4 separate regions of the Homo sapiens genome follow, and regions 1, 2 and 3 are each linked to region 4. The links are contacts of gene promoters, found by promoter capture Hi-C in blood cells and fetal thymus (Javierre and others, 2016). All regions are on one chromosome and are shown on one strand. The core of a region is centred on a gene start or on the middle of the fragment in contact, and the rest is flanking DNA. Distances in the headings are between cores, read along the strand shown. Region 1 overlaps AFF3 (ALF transcription elongation factor 3). Region 2 overlaps AFF3 (ALF transcription elongation factor 3). Region 3 overlaps AFF3 (ALF transcription elongation factor 3). Region 4 holds the start of LONRF2 (LON peptidase N-terminal domain and ring finger 2).

Region 1 (2,700 bases), core at 86-2,585, 760 kb after region 4:
GAGATTTTCTGCCTGAATCCAGCATCTAAAGTTTACAGCATTATTCATTCATTGTCCTCTTGCCCAACCCTATCTTTCCTGTTGACGATTTCCCAAGAGGAGACACTCTGCTCCAGCCAGGCTGGTCCCCTACTGACCTCTAAGCACACCTTGCTCCTGCCAGCCAGCGGGCCTTTGCACCTGCAGAGATTCACTCTCACACACTCTCATGGGCACACTCACACCCTCAGCATCCTCCCCAAATCTAGCCAAACCCTACCATTCCTTCCCGGCGTCATATTCAGTCTCCTCCCTGTGGCCTTCCCAGCCTCTCTGCGGCCCCATCACTAGCTCACTTTCCTCCATCTCATTTGCACTGGATGCCTCATTTTGTATTTTGTTGGGTAATCACAGACTGCCTTGCACTTTGAACTGTCTTGTAGGTGTACATTTTCTCTCTCCAAGTCTATTATATGTTCCTGGAAAGAGCTTTCGCTTGTGGAGTGCACATACCACAGAATTGGGTGCTTTAGGAAATATTAATACTAAATGAAATGACTTCATCTGAAAGTGTTATCAAGAAATGTTGCATTATAGGCCAGGCACGGTGGCTCACACCTGTAATCCCAGCACTTTGGGAGGCTAAGGCAGGTGGATCATTTGAGGTCAGGAGTTCGAGACCAGCCTGGCCAACATGGTGAAACCCTGTTTCTACTAAAAATACAAAAAAAAAAAAAAAAATGAGCCAGGTGTGGTGGTGCACACCTGTAATCCCAGCTACTTGGGAGGCTGAGACAGAAGACTCGCTTGAACCCGGGAGGCAGAGATTGCAATGAGCCAAGATCATGCCACTGCACTCCAGCCTGGGTGACAGAGTGAGACCCTGTCTCCAAAAAAAAAAAAAAGAAAAAAGAAATGTTGCATTATAGCCTACACTACCTTTATAAGCAGTTTAAAATTTTGATTTGCTAAGGAGAGGAAGTTTTGCTCTGCATTTCTGGTTTTGAAGCTATCATTACTAATGAAGTTTTTTTTGTATTTTTAGTGGCAAGACTTGGAATAGTATTTGAGTATTATGTCATTCTGTTTTAATTGATGAATGAATCATTTGAAAACTGGGGAGATTCTGCAATCCAGAGTTAGAATATGTAATTACCTACAAAGAGTAGTAAGGTATGGAACCAGGAACTTGATGCATAAGTTTAGACTGATGAGATCTTAAGAATATAAAGCTGATTTGTGGCTGCCCTTGCTGATGTGGGGAAAGAATAACACAAATTTCGACAGCTACAGATAATCCCGTAGAAATGTGTTTTGTTTTGCCTTTAGAGACAGCGTCTTGCTGTGTTATCCAGGTTGGAGCACAGTGGGGCGATCATAGCTCACTGGAACCTCAAACTTCCAGGCTCGAGTGATCCTCCTGCCTCACCTTCCCAAAACACTGGGATTACAGGCATGAGCCGCCAGGCCCAACCAAAAATCATTTTTATTAATAATTTTCAACTTTTTGTCCTATTTTAGCAAAGCTGAAATAGCTCCTTGAGGTTTATCTCCTCTCCTTTCCCCTACTCACTCTCACTCTTAAGTGAGGTTCTAAATATTAACAACAACAAAAAAAAAAAACAATTGAGGCCAGGTGTGGTGGCCTATGCCTGCCTGTAATTCCAGCTACGTGGGAGGCTGAGGCAGGAGAATCGCTTGAACATAGGAGGCAGAGGTTGCAGGGAGACTCCATCTCAAAAATAAAAAAATTAAAAAAAATTGAGAAGAGGAAGGCATGGAGATATAAGTGCCACAAATAATGTAAAAGATAATAACCAAGGCCTAGAACCATCCAAGTTGGGGATGTACCAAAAGAAGTATGAAAACTCTTATATGGGACCAGACCTACCAACTTTGATGCATATTTAGCATAGCATGGAGGAACAAGGAATGAAGTCGCCAAACCATTAGGGGTTAGAAAGAGGGAAACAGAAATCAGAGCAGCCATGCAGTTCTGAGCTCTGTTGATTGACAGCTGTCACATGGGTTTGATACAATTCTGTATATAACTGTTCGCTCACTTACTCCAAGCCAGTAGCAGTTTGAGAAAATAAGTAGGAAAAGAAGTATTCTATTTCTTTCTTCTCTCAGCTTCATAGGATTTTAGAAGTCAGAGTTGGGTTTCTCAAATAAGGTGTATAAACTACATGACAATGCCATTTAAAAAAAACTATTGTTTAGGAAGACACTGTATTAACTCTGTTGATCAGGTGGAAAAGTTTGGAAAGGCTTTGAACTATGCTGAAGCAGCATTGTCGTTTATCGAGTGTGGAAATGCAATGGAACAAGGCCCCATGGAATCCAAATCTCCTTATACGATGTATTCAGAAACAGTAGAGCTCATCAGGTAAGCACCGTGTTTTCTTGCTGGATGAGGGGAGGAGTGAGGAATGTGTGGAAGCACTATGGTTACAGAGAAAAGAATGTCAGCCTGCACCATCCCCCACCAGGAACCAGTGTTCATCCCCCCAAAATAAGAGGGTAAGGTCGTGCAAGGCGTCTTGGCACACCCTGCCCCCTCTGTCCTCCGTGAGCAAGGGGGGCAGCTGCTGTAGCCCCCAATTGCTGAGGGAGGAGGCTGAGTCTGAGTGGGCTGTGACATGCCTGCTCCTCTCAGCTAGGAAGTGGCAGATTTTGAGCCTATTTCAGCCCTAGGCTGCTTTAAAAAAAAAAAAAAAT
Region 2 (2,700 bases), core at 121-2,620, 730 kb after region 4:
TGGTGCTCAGTCTTTGTTGAGTGTAGGAATCAATCAATCAGTTAATCATCTGGGAATGAGTGTGGCTATTACCTCTGGGATGGATGGCTAACTGAATACGCTGATGGAAATATACACATGAAATATGCAGAGATAGACATTGGTAATATATAGACAGATTGGAAATACATAAAGCCATCCAGGCATGCAGAGTTTACTAGAGAGATGTGCAGAAAGACTTACATAAAATTCCGTAATATTCTGTGTTTAAATAGTTGTATTACTTATGGCCATTTTTATTTTAACTTAAGAAGCTTCATTTACAGTAAGCCTGACACCTGGCTGTACTCATAAAATCTAAAGAATCATTAAACACAGACACAAGAGAAGTGAAAGAACATTCTTATAGTGCTCTTTACTTGGTATTCTGGGCATTAGTACCCCAGTACTGGGTGCTGGAGATGGGACCCCATAGACCTGGCTGTCAAATTTGTGGAGTCTCGCCCTGCTGGAGCCCTGGAGCTAAGGACTAAGAACTCGGAGCTTTGGTTTGGGCCCTCCATGGGGGTACTATTACAGTGTGGGCATCTGGGAGCCCCTGTGGCAGAGGCTGTGTGGCAAAATCCCAGCCAGAGCGAGAAAGTCAGAGTCTTTCTCTCTTTGGTGTTGGCACTTGTCTCCTGGAAAACAATGCAGACAGCCCTGAGGATACCATACTAGGTTCCTGTTATCTCATGGAAAATGGTACTTTCTGAATATATTTGTGTTGCACCTTAACACATATCTAAAGTTAAACACAGGCTGGCCTGATAGCTGACACCTGTAATCCCAGCACTTTGGGAGGCCAAGGTGGGAGGATCGCTTGAGCCCAGGAGTTTGAGATCAGCCTGAGCAACATGGCAAAGCCCCGTCTCTACAAAAAATACAAAAAATTAGCCAGGCATGGTGGCACACACTTGCATTCCCAGCTACTTGGAAGGCTGAGGCGGGAGGATCACCTGAGCCTGGGAGGTCGAGGCTGCAGTGAGCCATGATCGCACCACTGCACTCCAGCCTGGGTGACAGAGCAAGACTGTCTCTAAATAAACAAATAAAATTAAACCCAATCATGGCAACAAGGATCCAATCAAAGTACTGTTTTAGAAAAAGGTACTTTATGGATTCTAAGATGTCATGGGATAGTAATTGAAAACTAGAATTAAGGCACCAAGAGATAATAGCTTCTGCTTGCAGTTCACAAAAGGCAATAATTTTTTTTTTTTTTTTTGAGACGGAGTCTCACTCTGTCACCAGGCTGGAGTGCAGTGGCGTGATCTCAGCTCACTTAAATCTCTGCCTCCCAGGTTCAAGCGATTCTCCTGCCTCAGCCTCCCAAGTAGCTGGGACTACAGGCGTGCACCACCACACCTGGCTAATTTTTTGTATTTTAGTAGAGATGGGGTTTCACCATGTTGGCCAGGATGGTGTTGATCTCCTGACCTCGTGATTCGCCTGCCTCGGCCTCCCAAAGTGCTGGGATTACAGGCATGAGCCACCGCACCTGGCCAAAGCAAGAATTTTTAAAACAGAAAAGTCCAGGCTTGCCACTGCCCTTATGGCATGAATCCCAGAGAACACACACTTGCTGTACTTTATTCTGATACCAAGAAATGCCAAGGTGAGTGCCGCTGGAGCTGCAGTGGGAACTCAGACCAGTTGGAGGGCTAAATCCTAAGCCGGTTGATGGCAGAGCAGCTTTCAGAATTCAAAATGTTGAATCATGGCGTCGTGCCTCTCCTCTCCATCAGCTGTCAATTGTAAAACTGACAGATTTCATCCTTGCTTGTTGAGGAGCTAATGGGGAAGCTATGGCAGGGGCACAGCTGCTCAGGCTGTGCTTCGGGGAAGCCAGGTGAGTGGGGCTCCCAGGAGGCCTTGCTCTGTGGAAGTCGGTGCCTGGGAACTCATAATACCTCTTGAAATCCAGTGCTGATTGACTTTAGTTTATTCCCATACAGTGTGACAACGAAGACGACTACAGGGAGATCAAGAAGTCCCAGGGAGAGAAAGACAGCTCTTCAAGACTGGCCACCTCCACCAGTAATACTTTGTCTGCAAACCACTGCAACATGAACATCAACAGGTACGTGCATTCCCTCCAAAGTGGAAGTGAGCTGGAGAGATCTCTGGGTCTGAAAGTCACCTGCTATGTTGGAGGAGGGTCAGGCTTTTTGAGGACTACTCTGGTCAAGGTCTGCAGACTTGCTTCCCTCCTTTAACCCAAATCTTATTATTATGGCTACACATGTGCCACACATTATAGCTCCAGATACTCACGCAAGGTTCTTCTCCATAACCAAAGACCAGATACTAGTTACACACAGCTCTGCACTCCCCAAGACATGCCCTTCCCCCAAAAAAACTTAATAACTGAATTTCTAATCAATATTTTAATGGTAACCGCTAAACTCCTAAGAACACTAAGCTTATTACACAGACGAAGAAATACACACTTCAAGCTGAATCTCCATGTGTAGCACCTAAAGCAATTAATTGGATATAGACTAAAATTGTGGCCTTAGAAGGGTCCGTGCTCCCAAGGTTAAATGGCCACCCACACACTCCTCTCAAGAGGTTCCAGATGGACGCATCCAGCACTGACTCCCCTCTGTGATGAATGGCTTACAAGCAAAGCAAGATCCCAGGTATTTATTAGAAACAAGTAGCTTATCATCAGTCGTA
Region 3 (2,700 bases), core at 101-2,600, 770 kb after region 4:
TGCTTGCAATGCAGAAGATCACAGTTCCTTTCTGGGGCAGCAGCAACCAGAGCCTCTTCCTGTGTCCTGTGTGTCTGGTATGTTTACACCTTGCTCTGAGTTTTTCTCTTGTTTTCTTTTTTTAATTAAGTTTACATTTTAGTTTCTTTGACATCTTGTTTACAGTTTTTGTCTGATGTTTTTTCTTTTGTAGTGTCTTATGCCCTAGATTTAGTCATCTTGTTAAATATATTTGGATATGAAATCTTGACGAAAAGAAAATAACTCCTGAAAAAGAGGGTCTATCTTGCCACACGTTAAAAACAAAAATAATGTCCTTGTGGCCTCTTACTTGATAAAGTTGCACCAGGACGGTCTGAGAAAGGCAGGCGGTGTAATATGTGGTGCAATCCATTTTTTCAAGGTGATGACGGCACAAAATACTTAGACTAGATGCTGATCCATAAACATTCACTGATATTCTTACAGGTTGGTTTGCAGTGTTAACATTTTTGTTAGCCTGATCTGTAGGTGGGAAGTAAGATCATCATAATTCCTTAGCTCTGAGCACTGATTCAAAATTGTATAAATGACTGAACAACTTAGATGATTTGAAATTAATTGAAAATAAGAAGGGCTTGTGGAATTTGCATTTGGCTTTGGCCTTCAAGCATTTGGAAATATTAAGAGAATTTCCATTTTACATGTCTCCAACTGGGGTGCTTCTTACAACCCTTTCACTTTTTTTTTGAGACGAGTTTCGCTCTGTTGCCCAGGCTGGAGTGCAGTGGCACGATCTCGGCTCACTGCATCCTCTGCCTCCTGGGTTCAAGTGATTGTCCCGCCTCAGCCTCCCAAGTAGCTGGGATTACAGGTGTGCACTACCATGCCCAGCTAATTTTTGTGTTTTTAGTAGAGACTGGGTTTCACCATGTTGGCCAGGCTCGTCTCAAACTCCTGACCTCAGGTGATCTACCCGCCTCCACCTCCCAAAGTGTTGTGATTACAGGCGTGAGCCACCACACCCAGCCCTTTCACTAATTTTTGGCAGAGTTCACAATCCCATCCTATGTCAGAAACTTGAACCTAACTTAAGAAATTTTGAGTCATTTTTTTGGAGGACTGAGGCTTTGTTCTACCTACTCTTGAAGAATCCTGATGAAATATTCAAACACATAAAGGGATGGCCCTGGAGGTCTATCCTGCATACCTGGAGAGCTTCTCTGGTCCTGCCCACCTTGAAAGTTGCAGACTTTGTTGTAACATCTATGTGATGAGCTTCCCTGTGAAGCCCCATTTGACAGGTGGGCCAGCAGTGTTTTATCAGCACTCTGATGGCCCACATTTCCCAGGAAAACTTCTTGAAACTTACCGTTGTGGGCAGTGGTCAGAGCGTGTAGTTCTTATGACTGTCTTGTTTCATCTGTGGAGCACGTGTGGAGCACGTTGGTACAGCAGTTTCTGTGGGGTTTGGCATGGGTGATTTTGGTTAGTAACCATCCTCCAATTGTTGCTTGTGAAAGTCATTCATAACTTGTTCCTTTTACTTAGTTTTGTTGTTACTGCTGTTGTTGTTGGTTTGGTTGGTTTTGAGACCGGGTCTGGCTCTGTAGCCCAAGCTGGAATGCGGTGGCGCGATCATGGCTCCCTGCAGCCTCAAACTCCTGGGCTCAAGCAATCCTCCTGCCTCAGCCTCCCAAGCAGCTGGGAAGATAGGCACGTGCCACCACACCCGGCTAATTTTTTCTTTATTTTTTTTGTAGAGATGGGGGTCTCACTATGTTGCCCAGGCTGGTCTCAAACTCCTGGGCTCAAGCGATCCTTTGGCCTCGGCCTCCCAAAGTGCATGAGCCACCATGCCTGGCCTGTTTAGTTTTGTTTCAAGTTGAAATACCTTTCTTGTGTTTTCTAATTAGAAAAGTAATATCTACTCATTGTAAAAACTCAAACAGTGCAGAAATGTAGAAAGTAGAAAGTGTAAGTCCCTGGTTGTCCCTTCTGCCTGAGACAACCACTGCTCACAGTTTGATGTATATCCTTCCAGAGACTCTCAAATTTAAGCAAATAATTTTTATTACCATGTCTTTTTATTTGAAGACGTACATTTGCCTCCAAAGTTCAACACAAGTTCAACTGACCATATCCTTCCATGACCTGAATAGATGCTATCCTTTATCACGATGTTCAATTGCCTTTGAAAGAGAGTAGTCCAGGTATATTCCTGATCAAAATTTGGCATTTTTGATGATACTACTCTACACAGATCAGACTCATGTGCAGAATCGTGCCTGGAGAGAGAGGTTTGGTTAAGACAGAGATTTCTGGAAACATTCAAATTGCAAATGGAAACTTGAAACCCACAATCTAATGAGGAATGTACTGGAAAAATAATCTGAAGAGTTGACAAATTGTGTACTAGATTGAACACATGGAATGCAATGCAATGAGACTTTCTGCACTAAAACTTATCCTCATATGTACAACAATGATGTGTGTATTATATAACAGTGATGTGTACATTTCTGACACCCCATACATAATATACACAGTTTGTATAAATGCATACATTTAAAAATATATATGTACAATACAGCTAACATAAAACTGTAGTACGCCTGAAGGATATTACTAGTGCCTAATATTGAGTATGAGTCACTGCGTGTTCGCATCAACTTGGAAGTGCAGTAATTGTTATAAAATTAATCAGTGCAGCCAACATTA
Region 4 (2,700 bases), core at 123-2,622:
CTGCCTTTGTGTTATATTTGTGATATATTTTATTTCTATGTGTTATAAACCTCACAACACACTAACATTTTTGCTTTAAACACTTCTGGCTCTCAGCAGGCATACCTCCGGCAAGCTTCTTTCTGTTCTCTTGCTAGATATTTGTCTAAAATAAGAACAAATAGGATCTGAGATCATAAGGTTTCACAATCTTTACTGTATGGTCTGTGCTCTGAAGCTTTTTCCCCATTGCTTCCTGATTGTTGGTTGTGAATTTGATGGATAAATGACCCTCAAATATAAGTGAATTGTTATTCTATAAAGAAAGCAGATAAAAATCCAAACAGTGATTGAAAAAGTGAATTTGAAATAATTCAGTAATGAAAAAGAGACCCAAACAGTACACTGTTATCAATTAAGTTAGGTAGACAGCTGGGGGAAATCCTTCATGGAAAAGGAGGTGGGTACTCTGCATTTGTTTATTGTAGAACTAGAGGGCTGGCCAAAAATTGCCCCTTTTTCCCTTTTAGGAACTGGTCTAAAATGTTCTCTCACTTAATGAGGCATTTCTCCTTTCCCAAAGCCAGATGTGGTCGAGGTATTGTATATTTTCTTTAGCCAGCAGTTTTAGATGTAGAAAAACCTCTCCAATTTTTTAAAAAAATTTATTCTTGAAATATGAACAGTAGTATGAATTCTAGAATATTGTAATGCATTTTATTGTATTCAAATACACAGGATAAAACAGATACTGTGACGACAGGAAGAAGGGAGCAGGCTACATAGGAGAAATACATAGGCTATATAGGAGAAATTATGAACCCGGTTAATACGCACAGAGGATTTTAATTTAAACCTTGCTTGTACACCAACGGAGCGTTTAGCTCCCTCTCCCCAGCAACTTATGTCTGCAGTACTCCATACTAGGGCACCCTTTCTATTTCTATTCTAATTCTATTAATTAGAATTCTATTTCTAATTCTATTTCTGCTTCCTAATCAAGGGCACAATACAATTGTCCACTTCTCGAATCCCTCCTCCTCCTGGTATCTGGTTCTCTTGGCCCTCCACGTTCTCTGTTAAAATGAGTTCTCAAAGGCCTCAGCCTAGAGTTAAGAGAAGAAGCTCGCTGAGGCGGGGCCTCTGGGTGCCCACTTCAGCCTCCCCAGTCATTTAGGACAATTTCCTAAGTCGAAGCTAGAGATGCGTGATGCGTTTGGTGACTTTTCCTGGGTTCTTGCTTAAGCGGAGCCACAGGTTGTGGGGGCGGCCAGGCCTCTGGGGAAGAGCAGGTGCCGCGGTGCCGGCGCGCCAGCAGCCCGCGGCCAAGGCCACCTGCTCCCAGGGCCCCGGCACCTCTGCGGGGAGGCGGCAGGCAGAGGACGCGCGCGCAGTCGCGCAGGAGCCCTCAGGCGAGTGGGGGAAGCATCGCAAGAGACGCGGACCTGGAGCGCGGTCACTGCGTTACCGCAGCGACCTGGGTTACCTAAGCCGGCGGGACTGAGAGGCCGCTGCGCGTGGGCAGGGGCTCAGATTGCGCCCGCGGTGCCTGTCCCGGCCCCCACCCCGGAACGATTGCAGCCCTGCGGGGCTCGCCGCCCACACCGCGCTGAGGACGCTGCCCAAGCCAGGCGCCCGCCCCCGCCCGCGGTCTCAGCCGCTCGCAGCGCGCCGCCCCCAGACGCGCGTGGCTGCTGGCGAGGGCTGAGACCGCGCTCCCGCCGGCCAGTTCCCAGCAGCAGCGCATCCTCCCTGCTCCGCGCCTTCGCTCCGGACCCGCGTCGTCGCAGCCCCGCGGTGATGAGCCCCGAGCCGGTCCCGCCGCCGCCGCCGCCCCAGTGTCCTGGCTGCGACCGCGCGGAGCCGATCGCCCAGCGCTTAGAGGAGGGCGACGAGGCCTTCCGCGCGGGCGACTACGAGATGGCAGCCGAGCTCTTTCGCTCCATGCTAGCCGGGCTGGCGCAGCCGGACCGCGGCCTGTGCCTGAGGCTGGGGGACGCGCTGGCCCGCGCCGGCCGCCTCCCCGAAGCCCTGGGCGCGTTCCGCGGCGCCGCGCGGCTCGGGGCGCTGCGGCCGGAGGAGCTGGAAGAGCTGGCGGGCGGCCTGGTGCGCGCCGTGGGCCTGCGCGACCGGCCGCTGTCCGCGGAGAACCCGGGCGGCGAGCCCGAGGCGCCCGGCGAGGGAGGGCCGGCCCCGGAGCCCCGCGCGCCCCGCGACCTGCTCGGCTGCCCGCGCTGCCGGCGGCTGCTGCATAAGCCGGTGACGCTGCCCTGCGGGCTCACAGTCTGCAAGCGCTGCGTGGAGCCAGGGCCCGCGCGGCCGCAGGTGCGGCGCGTGAACGTGGTGCTGAGCGGCCTGCTGGAGAAGTGCTTCCCGGCCGAGTGCCGGCTGCGCAGGCTGGCAGGCCAGGCGCGGAGCCTGCAGCGCCAGCAGCAGCCGGAGGCCGCGCTGCTCAGGTGCGACCAGGCCCTGGAGCTGGGTGAGTCGGCTGCGGGGCGGGTCCGCCTCCCCTACACCTGTCCGGCCCAGCAGCGGGGTGGGGAGCTGGCCGGTGGGCCCGAGGCTTTGGGCTTTCGAGAGCTTTGTCTAGGCTTAGGGGTCACTTTGCTTCCTAAGGATGGGAAGGTGAAAGGTGGGGGCGGCCACACCCTGCAGCCAGGAGAGGCCAAGTGCACCCCACTGGTTTTGTCTTTTCCAGGATGCTGGTAAGTTTCCCGCGGC

Evidence for each region. The method cuts DNA at HindIII sites, captures the fragments that hold promoters and counts their contacts. A CHiCAGO score of 5 or more calls a contact.
Region 1: a fragment that was not itself captured here is called in contact with the fragment with the promoter of LONRF2 in region 4 in 7 of 17 cell types (M2 macrophages, M0 macrophages, M1 macrophages and 4 more); the score reaches 8.7 in M2 macrophages.
Region 2: a fragment that was not itself captured here is called in contact with the fragment with the promoter of LONRF2 in region 4 in 10 of 17 cell types (M1 macrophages, fetal thymus, naive CD8 T cells and 7 more); the score reaches 8.7 in M1 macrophages.
Region 3: a contact is called between a fragment that was not itself captured here and the fragment with the promoter of LONRF2 in region 4, in 4 of 17 cell types (megakaryocytes, total CD4 T cells, M0 macrophages and 1 more). The highest score is 7.8, in megakaryocytes.

Annotation. Positions count from the first base shown.
Region 1 is chr2:99,565,155-99,567,854 of GRCh38, reverse strand. It overlaps AFF3 (ALF transcription elongation factor 3), which reads left to right. Exons shown (of 25, transcript NM_001386135.1): 20 at 2,232-2,368. Among named protein-coding and RNA genes, the nearest start is that of REV1, 76 kb to the right of the region's middle. The HindIII fragment of the contact is 3,586 bases long and covers 1-2,700 here.
Region 2 is chr2:99,586,555-99,589,254 of GRCh38, reverse strand. AFF3 (ALF transcription elongation factor 3) reads left to right here. Exons shown (of 25, transcript NM_001386135.1): 16 at 1,977-2,101. Among named protein-coding and RNA genes, the nearest start is that of REV1, 98 kb to the right of the region's middle. The HindIII fragment of the contact is 2,150 bases long and covers 296-2,445 here.
Region 3 is chr2:99,547,613-99,550,312 of GRCh38, reverse strand. AFF3 (ALF transcription elongation factor 3) reads left to right here. Exons shown (of 25, transcript NM_001386135.1): 25 at 1-2,700. Among named protein-coding and RNA genes, the nearest start is that of REV1, 59 kb to the right of the region's middle. The HindIII fragment of the contact is 4,123 bases long and covers 1-2,700 here.
Region 4 is chr2:100,321,173-100,323,872 of GRCh38, reverse strand. It overlaps LONRF2 (LON peptidase N-terminal domain and ring finger 2), which reads left to right and starts at 1,372. Exons shown (of 12, transcript NM_198461.4): 1 at 1,372-2,458. The coding sequence starts at 1,780. The HindIII fragment of the contact is 11,643 bases long and covers 220-2,700 here.